Linked DNA regions of Homo sapiens: region 2 is linked to region 1. The links are contacts of gene promoters, found by promoter capture Hi-C in blood cells and fetal thymus (Javierre and others, 2016). All regions are on one chromosome and are shown on one strand. The core of a region is centred on a gene start or on the middle of the fragment in contact, and the rest is flanking DNA. Distances in the headings are between cores, read along the strand shown.

Evidence for each region. Contacts are between HindIII fragments. The CHiCAGO score rates a contact against its expected background, and 5 or more counts as called.
Region 2: a contact is called between a fragment that was not itself captured here and the fragment with the promoter of UTP25 in region 1, in 1 of 17 cell types (activated CD4 T cells). The highest score is 7.5, in activated CD4 T cells.

The regions. Positions count from the first base shown.
Region 1 is chr1:209,824,287-209,830,180 of GRCh38, forward strand. UTP25 (UTP25 small subunit processome component) reads left to right here and starts at 3,686. Exons shown (of 12, transcript NM_014388.7): 1 at 3,686-3,884; 2 at 5,822-5,861. The coding sequence starts at 3,778. RefSeq lists an enhancer at 3,726-3,775. The HindIII fragment of the contact is 3,327 bases long and covers 2,605-5,894 here.
Region 2 is chr1:213,006,620-213,011,977 of GRCh38, forward strand. It overlaps ANGEL2 (angel homolog 2), which reads right to left. Exons shown (of 9, transcript NM_144567.5): 3 at 1,591-1,847; 4 at 510-579. Among named protein-coding and RNA genes, the nearest start is that of ANGEL2, 6.6 kb to the right of the region's middle. The HindIII fragment of the contact is 4,536 bases long and covers 42-4,577 here.

The DNA of each region.
Region 1 (5,894 bases), core at 2,436-4,935:
GACTTTCACCATTAGAGAGTCATACCTTTGGATATACATGGCTTCCTCTCAACATATCTTGAAACTATGTGACCTTGTTATCAAAAAAAAAATAAATCTCAAACATCCCCAGCATCTGAGATGTATCCTCAAGCAGTGTTCCCCCTAGCTCTGTTGAGAATCTCAGATAGACCCTCTGCTTACTTTCTGTATTTTGCATTATAAAGTGACTGACTTGTGTCTTTAAATATTTATAGCTATATGTCAAGTAAGTACTTTCAAATTATATATATCATGATATTTACAATTAGAATATATCAATTTGTAGAACTCCATGAATTCATAATGATACTAAAAATAAAAACCAAAACTTAATTGGCCACCATTAAATCTAGTGATCAACTTCTTACCTTGAAAATTGGCAAATGAAGGGAAAGAATCAAGCATTTATTCTTTCCTATATAAACTGTACCACTGGGTAACCAAAATTTAATTAAGGTAGAAATTTGTCTTCACAACAAGAATTCAGCAACTAAGTAAAGAATAAATGACAGAATCAGAGTATCACTCCCTGAAATAGAATTATAATGTATTCATGAATTAATGAATTTAGACATTGAGCATCAATGTCTGGTAACATCACAGAAAGAAAGGCAACCAGACATCATATGCCTTCTGATGGAAGTACAAAATACCAAGTATAACAAAGTGTGATCAAACTTCTAGATCCAACAATCAATTCATAAGAAATATAGAGAAGAGCATAACATGTTAAACCAACAAAGTATTTTTAAAAGACAACATTTATGAGACAATCAAAAATGTGAACACTGGCAGTATATATGATTATATTAAACAGTTAACTTCAGTGTTTTTTAGGTTGGATAATGCCATTGAGGCTACATTAAAAAAACCCTTAACTTTTAGAAATGCACACTAAAATATTTACAGATGAAATAATATGATGTTTGGGATTTGCTTCAAAAATAATGCAGAGTAGGGACAGGGCAGTGGTTGGGCATATAAATGAGACAAGATGGCCTTGAGTTGACAGTTGCTGAAGCTGGGCAATAGGTATATGGGAGTTCATTCTCCCATTTTGTCTACTTTTGTATACACTTAAAATGTGCCATATAAAACATTTTTTTCTTTTAAATTATTAACTGATTCCGAAACATTCTGATATTCTTGTCCTAAGGGATAGCTATCCTTCTCCCACTCCTTGAGATCATTATCCTAGAGAATCTTCTGGAAATTGCAAATATCCCAAGGAAAGTAACTTGTTAATTCATTAACAGCTATCTGTAAACTAATACAGAGGGTTATTTCCTGGACTGCCTTTAACACTGAAAATATGGAGTTCCTGTGAGTAGAAGTAAAAGAAAACGTTGGGGGAGGGAAACGGAAGGGCAGAGGGAGGGAAAAAGAAGAACAAATTTTGTCTTCATTACAGTTTTCCTAAGGCCTTCATTTGTTGGCATATACATCATCGTTGTGCAGGTTTTACTAAGAGAACTTTCACGGGGGGGCGGGGCGGGGAGAAATGCTTACATTCTTGGCTCTTAGGTTAAATTTTCACAAAGGATCCCTTTTTATGTTGTCAAAGGATAATATAAATATTTTTAGGACAAAAAGGGCTTCTTTTTCCATGACCCAGTGAGCCAATGATGAGACTGCTTGGGTGGGGCTAGGGTAAATTTTTACCTGAACCTGAGAACCGTCTAGACCTGTACACAAGACCACAAGGGTGTGGAAACCGGGAGAGTAAGAGTCACCTCAAGTGCTTGAGAATATAGCTTTCATAGAAGATCTCTGGAAGAACACCAAGAAAGTGGCTGCCTCTGGGGAGGGAAACTGGGGCACTTGGGATATGTTGGGAGGGGGAAAAAGGATGGCTCTTTATTGCTATAGCCAAGTTATACTGTGGTCAGCACCTTAAAATATATGATGACATCTTGCAAACAGGCTTTTGTTGACCTAAGTGACTGTACCTTTTATCTTGAAATTACATAGAAGACAAATGGCTATTTATGGGTTCCTTGGCTGGCCCAGCTGCTGGGCACCACCCGCTCTGTTTGCATGTGTTCCTCATATTCTCCGGCCCTGTCCTCCCATCCCCACCCCAGCCTCTCCGAATCTAATTAGGAATAGTAGATGGTCACTAGAACTGACAAGAATCGCATTCTAATGGTTTTATTACAACTTCTATGGTGTGACACAGTATCAGGGAAAACCCAAATTTCCCACAGTAGCACTCCAATAGCAGAGCTATTATTTTGCTTCTCATTTCTCTCATTTTGGACGCTCCTGTTTTACCGTAAATATTCAAGTGAATTCTGCGGCTTATGATTTAAGCACTCTGTTTCTATAGAACATGGTAGCATAAGTTACTATTAGGAAAAGGATCTCACCATCTTTATCCTGTGGTCTCAAGCAGCCCTGCACACTTGCAAATCCCTAGAATACTGAGTCTACTTTTATATTTTTGCTTTTTCCTGTTTATTTAGGTGTTATTTAAATACATTAAAATTCACCCATTTTAACTGTACAGTTTAACTTTTCTTATGTATACAAGGTGTAACTACTAGCATGATCAAAATGTAAGATGGTTCCTTTACCTTCAAAAGCTTTTCCATCCCCTTTTGTCCGAGTTCAGTTATGAGACACTGGATTGGGTTTCACAGCCTTTTCTAGCATTGACTGGGGTGATTTCAGTAAAGTCACTTTACCTCTCTAGATGTGTTTCTGCTGTTGTTAAATGGGGAATGCTGGAACAGATTTGTTTGCGGGGACTCTTCCAATACTTTCAGAAAATGCGAGAATAGGGTGAGGGTGGGAATCTCAGACTTGTGGGCCCCATGATTGATATAACACACACAGGCGGCAGACCCTAATGGGTAAAAGCATGTGGTTGCATCAGTTAAGGTTTTTCTCTCTTCTCTTGCTAGCGTGTTATCTTTTCTTTTCTTTTCTTCTTTTTTTTTTTTTTCGAGATGGAGTCTAGCTTTTGTCGCCCAGGCTGGAGTAGGCTGGAGTGCAGTGGAGTGATCTCGGCTCATTGCAACCTCCACCTCCCGGGTTCCAGCGATTCTCCTGCCTCACCTCCTGAGTAGCTGGGATTACAGGCGCCCGCTACCACGCCCGGCTGATTTTTGTACTTTTAGTAGAGACGGGGTTTCACCATGTTTGGCCATGCTGGTCTCGAACTCCTGACCTCAGGTGATCCGCCCATCTCGGCCTCCCAAAGTGTTGAGATTACAGGCGTGAGCCACCGCGCCCGGCCGCTAGCGTGTTATCTTTTCTAAGCATCAGTTTCCTTATCTGCAACACCAGGCTTATTAACAAGACCTATCTGTACACTGTTGTGGTGATGAAGTGAGATGTTCAGGCACCCTTAAATGTTGGTTGATATTTTTATTGCAGTATACTGTAAAGTCACTGCATTCGACTATCTCCGCTACTACACATTTACGCAGACTGATTTCCATAACCAAAACACAAGCACAAAGCTCATGCCCCCGACTCACGCAACCCGGGAAGCCCAGCTGCCCACGTTCTAGGGCTCTGAGAACACTAGTGAACGAACTCCCGTGCTTTCAAAGAGCTGCGGTAGGGGGCAGAACCGGGAACCGGATGTTCTAAGCCTGTCGTACGAGCGCGACGTAAAGCGGATCTGCTTTATGGCACCTTGCTTTCGCCGTAAAGCGCAGTCAGCGAGCCCACGTGCTTGTGTTGACTGGACAACTTCCTGGTGGAAAACCGCGACTCTTGCAAGTGGGCAAACTTGACGTTTTCGCTATGGGCAAACGCGGGAGCCGGAGCCAGAGCCAGCTACTCAACACCCTAACTAAAAAGCAGAAGAAACATCTTCGAGATTTCGGCGAGGAGCATCCCTTCTATGACAGGTCTGAAGGGGCGTGGCAGGGCTCCCCAGTCGCCAGAGATGTATCCTCGAGTTTGGTCCTCTGGTCTCCCAGATAGTGCTGCTCCGGCCTTTTCCCACTATTCCCTGGCTCCCGCTGTGCTCGGCCGGGGAGATTCTGGCGCCATCCCGCCGGGAGATGGAGTGCTTCACGGGCCTTTTTGTTGAGCCTGTAATTTCCTGCTAAGAGGCACGCCCGTTGTGTGGGGGAGGATTTTTTTTTTTTTTTTAAGACGGTGTTTCGCTCTGTCGCCCAGGCTGGAGTGCAATGGCGCGATCTTGGCTCACTGCAACCTCTGTCTCCTCCCGGGTTCAAGCGATGCTCCTGCCTCAGCCTCCCGTGTAGCTGGGATTACAGGCGCCCGCCACCAAGCCCGGCTGATTTTTTGTATTTTTAGTAGAGATGGGGTTTCACCATGTTGGCCAGGCTGGTCTTGAACTCCTGACCTCAGGTGATCCACCCACCTCGGCCTCCCAAAGTGCTGGGATTACAGGCGTGAGCCACCGCGCCCAGCTATGGGGGCGGATTTTTGTGTGGTCAGAGATCTAGGAATTTTTTGTAGACACACATATATATATGTATATATATAATTTTTTTTTTTTAAGACAGAGTCTCGCTTTGTCGCCCAGGCTGGAGTGCAGTGGCGCGATCTCAGCTCACTGCAACCTCCGTCTCCCGGGCTTAAGCGATTCTCCTGCCTCAGCTTCCCGTGTAGCTGGGATTACAGGCGCCCGCCATCACACCCGATCAATTTTTTGTATTTTTAGTTGAGACGGGGTTTCACCATGTTAGCTAGGGTGGTCTCGAACTACTGACCTCGGGTGATCTGCCCGCCTTGGCCTCCCAAAGTGCTGGAATTACAGGCGTGAACCACCGCGCTTGGCCTGTTTTTATAATTATTTTTAACTTACATAAAATGATTGTACATATTTGTGGGATACAGTGTGATATTTTGATAACAATACATGTACCCAATGTGTAATGATCAAATCCGGGTAATTAGCATATTCATCATCTCAAACATCAATTCTTTGCGTTGGGAACATTGAAAATCCGCTCTTCTAGCCATTTGAAAATATACAATAAATTGTTAGTTATAGTCACATCATATGTTGTGTGTGTTTTTAAAGAATTTGTTGGGACATCATTGATCTTTGCAATTACGATAAGGAACTAAGTGTATTAGTAGTTGTGGTTTCTCTAGAAATGTCTAGGTGCAGTTATGATCTCAATGCTCATCCCACTACTTTGGGCTGCTTTGTCATCAGTTAGGGACATTCTTTTTTTCTTTTCTTTTCTTTTTTCTTTTTTTTGAGGCAGGGTCTCACTTCGTTGCCCAGGTTGGAATCCAGTGCTGCAATCCTGGCTCACTGCAGCCACCACCTCCTGGGCTCAAGCGGTCCTCCTGCCTCAGCCTTCCCAGTAGCCGAGACTACAGGTGCACAACACAACTCCGGGCTAATTTTTCTTATTTTTTTGTAGAGACAGGGTCTCCGTATGTTACCCAGGTTGGTCTCAAACTCCTGGGCTCAAGTGATTCTCCCACCTTGGCCTCCTAAAGTGCTGGGATTCCAGATATGAGCCACCGCTCCCAGCTTAGAGGGACATTCTAATTAAGAAATTTGCTAGAAAAACATGAACCCCGAAATCTTTTATTTAGCCAAGTTGTATCCTTCTTTTGGATGAGAGCCTTGTGTGACTCTAGGGTTTGTCATGTGACCTCCTTAAACTTTTCATTTGTCAGTTATTAACCATATTCTTGCCAGCCCTGCCCAAGTGCATGTGTAATTTTTGCATGACTATATCTAAAATGTATTTATAATGTTATATTCTGCCTTTTTCATTTAACATCTCATTTGACCTTTTCCTAATTTCTACATACTAGTAGTTAGAATGTAACATTGCCTGTTTCTTTTTAGGGTTTCCAGAAAGGAAGCAAAGCCACAGATTTGTCAACTGGTAATGCTTTCTACCTTCTTTTTAATAGTTGGT
Region 2 (5,358 bases), core at 1,060-3,559, 3.2 Mb after region 1:
TATAATGATGAACGAGACAAAATGGTCTCCTGGAGCTCAGAAGCTTATAGGTCTACAGGTGGACAGAACAACTCCTAGGAAAGGGAGCTACTAAGATATTCTTACACATCTTTCTGTTTGAATTAAAATTATACACCAACACAAAAGTTTCCAGTGAGTACCTCAATCTTTTCCTCTTTGAAATTAAGTTTTTAAAATTAAGATTTTTAGCCAAAATATGCCACACATCTTTGTCAGCAAGTTATACTTTAATGACACATGAATTTTCAAAAGTAAATTTGGCTAAAAGTTACATTGCCTTGTCTCTATAAAAAAAATTAAATAATTGGCCGGGCATGGTGGCACACATCTCTAGTCCCAGCTACTCAGGAAGCCGAAATGAGAGGATTACTTGAGCCCAGTAGGTTGAGGCTGTAGTGAGCCATGATTGTGCCACTGCACTCCAGTTGGGCGACAGAGTGAGACCCTGTCTCAAAAAAGAAAAAAAAAAAAAAAAAGTTGCATTGTACCCAGTGATTCCAAACTTGGCCTGATCTCTGCTCCATAATGATCTTCTTGAACTTCTTGCAAACAAAGTACCTTGGAAGAAAAAAATAGCTTGAATTAGAACACAGAGATGCAATCATGAATTTCCTGGTGCTTTTATCTTAAAATATCTAAAAGCAGGCTTCTAAAATTCCACACCTGATAAGAATTGAAATAAAAGACTTACCTGTTTTTCTTGTTATAGATCTACCAAATTAATGTTTCCGAATTTTGATCAATCTCAAAACTCTGGCCCTCAATCACATGGAGCTCCCTTAGTACTCAAAATTATTATTTCCAAAAGGAAATATTCTTAGCTTACATGTCAGGATATTTTTCCGGGTTTTACATGTTCATTGGTACTATCTTTCAGGTCTTAAGAGGCAGATTTCTTTGAATGCTATCAGGTAGGTGACATTTTTGCATGAATTACTGAAATTTCAAATCAAAGTTAATATTTACTGAATACTTAATATGTTGCCAGTTTCTGTCTCAAAACTGACCCATACTTAAAAACTTTTTGGACCCTCTTTGAAAAGTTAGATGATTATTCATACCAGCAACCACTAACAAATGCCTCTCTGAAAGTTATACCTTATTAAGACTTATTCCATCATTATTCTTAAACATATTCCTTTCTTACCCCACAAACAAAATGGATAAAACCATTTAGTTCATAAATGCACAAATGAAACATTTAACCCAACTTTTTCTTTCTTTCTTTTTTTTTTTTTTTGAGGCAGAGTTTTGCTCTTGTTGCCCAGGCTGGATTGCAATGGTGCAATCTCAGCTCACTGCAACATCGACCTCCCAGGTTCAAGTGATTCTCCTGCCTCAGCCTCCTGAGTAGCTGGGATTACAGGCATGAGCCACCACGCCCGGCTAATTTTGTATGTTTTAGTAGAGACGGGGTTTCTCCATGTTGGTCAGGCTGGTCTCAAACTACCGACCTCAGGTGATCCACCTGCCTCAGCCTCCCAAAGTGCTGGGATTACAAGCATGAGCCAGTGTGCCCGGCCCCAACTTTTTCTTATGTGAAGAATTTCAATAATATTTTGCACTTACGTCTGCATCAAAATGTTTAATTTCTTTCAGAATATTGGGAAACCTAAAACTCCAGTGTAATACTGGCCGCCGGCAATGTCTATAAAGGTGAGAGTTATCTTCCAGTAAATCTTGTGAAAGTATATTATAGGACATCACTGAAAAGTCAAACTTGTTCTCACTGTCTTCACATTTGGGATCAACATTTTTGTCTCCTAGGATCTTCGTTTTTTCTTTATCATGGCTACATATATATTCCCAATTCCGCTTTATCACACCTGTTAAAATATATTGCACAAATATAAGGAATTAATCAAAAGCAGACCATACAGTTTCCCACATATATGTATTTTTCAGCCTCTTAAAAATTCCCATAAGCAATGAATAGAATGTTTTTCCCTAGGAAGTGGCAATATAGCACTGAATAATTAGAACTGTTATCAAATTGGTTACAAATGCGGTAACACAATATACTGACCAACAGGTTTAAAACAGGTTTAAAAGAATCTTGCAAGTCATTCTGGAGGCTGAGAGTATGTGTTAACAAAGCTAAGACTATACAGAGGTTGTGGTTTCTCACTTCTCTACAGTTAAGAAGTGGCTCTGCCACAGATGTGATTGGCAGTTTTATAACTATAACAACAAATTTGTATGTCAAAGTTGGCTTTTCAATAAGATGATTTTACACTGTATTTTATTCCCTATTAGTGGGATAAGATCGTCAAATGATTAACCAAGTTCCAGAAGCAACCCTTAGTTCAGAATTCTAGTTTATACATGAAAGAAGTGTATATAATGGCAATATATGGAAGAAGTTTTAGTGTTTAAAACACTGAAGTGGAACATGCAAACAAAATAACAAAAGAAATCTTTTAAATGTACAACAAAGGAAAAGTTAAATATGACATAGCTACAGAATGCTAGTAAATGATGGCTAACCAACAAACCTAGCATGCAACAACCAGGCGTGTGTTCATATTCTGCAAACACATCATGCATTCTGCAAAAGTGATGAAAAGAATAAAAAAACACAAGACTTTGCAATCATAGGCAGTCCCTGACTTAGAAATAACCGTGTGTGTGATGTGTGTGTGTGTATTCACCTTTGATCTTGTCTCCTACATCCTATCATTAAAGAGCATGCTCTTACTGCCATGGAAACCATGAAGAGAAACACGGAATTTTTGGAGAATTTATGAGTTCAAAAGAGAAAACAAAAAAATGGGAAGAACATGGGAAAACAGATTTGGAAATGGACTTCTAAGTATGATTAAATTATATAAAAAATTTCAGCCCCTAGAATATCTCCCTCTATCCTGCAAAGGTTTTCACTTCACTGGAATACAATGCCTGGAATTCCACCAATCAAAAATTAAATTGAAGTTAAAATATCCTATACACTTATATAGAGGGTGAAATAAAGACTAAAAGGAAACACACCCATATTTTTAAGAGTAGTTATCTCTGAGTGTTAGGACTGTGAAATATTTTTGCAAATCTTCTGCACAATACATTTACAATCAAAATATCAATATGCTATTTAAAAATGCCAATGAAGTAATCATTTTAAAGTATGATTAGGCCAGGCACAGTGCCTCATGCCTGTAATCCCAGCACTTTGGGAGGCTGAGGCGGGTGGATCACCTGAGGTCAGGAGTTCGAGACCAGCCTGGCCAACATGGCGAAACCCTGTCTCTACTAAAAATACAAAAATTAGTCGGGTGTGGTGGCATGCACCTGTAATCCCAGCTACTCAGGAGGCTGAAGCCAGAGAATCGCTGTAACCCGGGAAGCAGAGGTTGCAGTGAGCCGAGATCGCGCCATTGCACTCCAGCCTGGGCAACAAGAGTGAGACTCCAACTCAAAAAAAAAAAAAAAAAAGATGGAAAGAAACAAAACCAAACTAAACAAAAGTCTTCAACTATGAAGAATTTTGCCTAGAGCCTATCCTATGCCCAGGAAAGGAAACTATCCTCTTCCCTATCATTCACTGAAGATAGGAATCCTACCCCCAATGGCTCAGAACTAAGGCCAATTGTACTGGCTCTGCAGAGCCATTCAGATTTATAACAAAATTTCTATAGGGAAAACAGAACTGATTGGCCGGGCGTGGTGGCTCACACCTGTAATCCCAGCACTTTGGGAGGCCAAGGCGGGTGGATCACAAGGTCAGGAGACCAAGACCATCCTGGCTAACACCGTGAAACCCCGTCTCTACTAAAAAATACAAAAATTTAGCCGGGCGTGGTGGCGGGCACCTGCAGTCCCAGCTACTCGGGAGGCTGAGACAGGAGAATGGCGTGAACCTGGGAGGTGGAGCTTGCAGTAAGCTGAGATTGCGCCATTGCACTCCAGCCTGGGCAACAGAGTGAGCCTTCGTCTCAAAAAAAAAAAAAAAAAGAACTGATCATGTGTAGAACACAATTCATTCATAAACTGGAGACTGTCTATGATGGTTTTAGCCAAATCAAAGTCTTCTTATGTATACAAGATGGAAAGGGTTCCAGTCATGCAAACAATATATAAGCTATCATCACAGATGGAGCACTACCCTGGTTTCACTGCCATATTAAAATATGAAAATTAAGGTCTAAAAACCTTATTCATATTTCCTTATAAAACATGTACATGTAATGGCATATAAATGCATTAAGATTTTTATTGTCCTGGTCATTAAAGTTTATAAACAACTCTTTTTGCAATTCCATTTTTTAAACAACCAGGACCATTAGTTTATCTGGTTACTACAGTGGCTTTCAAACTTCTACAACTTGTAGAACCCTTCTGTGTTACTTTTCATGCCATGGAACACCAATCCCTGGCATGCTGGGACTGGGGCTGGGATGATGGGGTGAACACATATTTTATACTGACCACATTTGCTTTTAATAAACTTACAGAAATGTGTTCAAATATGAGGGTTCCATGGAAGACAATTTGAAAACCACTGATAAGAGTGGATAGTCTCTGGCCTTCATATGCTTCACAACATAAATTCACACTACAAAAGCTTATATACCTTCCATATCAGGAGGAACAAGGTGATCACAGCAGAGAAGACAGATGAATCAAAGAAAGTAAGCAATAGGCCTGATCAGGTTTTTAGGGTGCCTAATTACAAAGTCATAATTGTATCACACAAATCCTTCAAATACCACTTTAAAGTGATAGGCAAGTTAGCAATGCTGTTTTCTTGATTGAAAAGTATTAGTGAAATATCGGAAGTCACAAATATGGCTTAACGAAGAGCATTTTCCTTATTCACAACACCTAGGAAGAATGGACATATAGAAAGTCAGGTTGTAATCAAGCTTTATCAGTAGGTAAATGTAATTCCCCATCCATTAAGGGAAAACAACACCATAATTTTCTGAGTACCTACTATGAAGCCAACAGTGTGTTAGGCACTTTGACATACAGTATCTCATTTCATTCAACAGACTTTCAAGTAGGCATTATTTTACACGAAAAAATCAAGGAGCAAAGAGGTTAAGTAAGCTGTCCAAGTTCATATAATTAGTGGTGGGGCAGAAAAGAAAGCAGGGAGTGGTTCCTAAATCAATGCTTATGTAGCTATGCCACAGCTCCATCTGAAAGCATCCCAGATTTCTAAGAGGCTAAACAAGAGGAGTGTGCTGACCTGATGGACAAATTTTTATGAGTGAAAAGCAATCTGGTATCATCATACTGCCCTATATTTATAGATCTTAGGATTGTTCTTAGAAACCTAATTTTAATGCCTCTAAATACACCTTTCATTCATTCAAATATTTCTTGTTTATCTCCCTA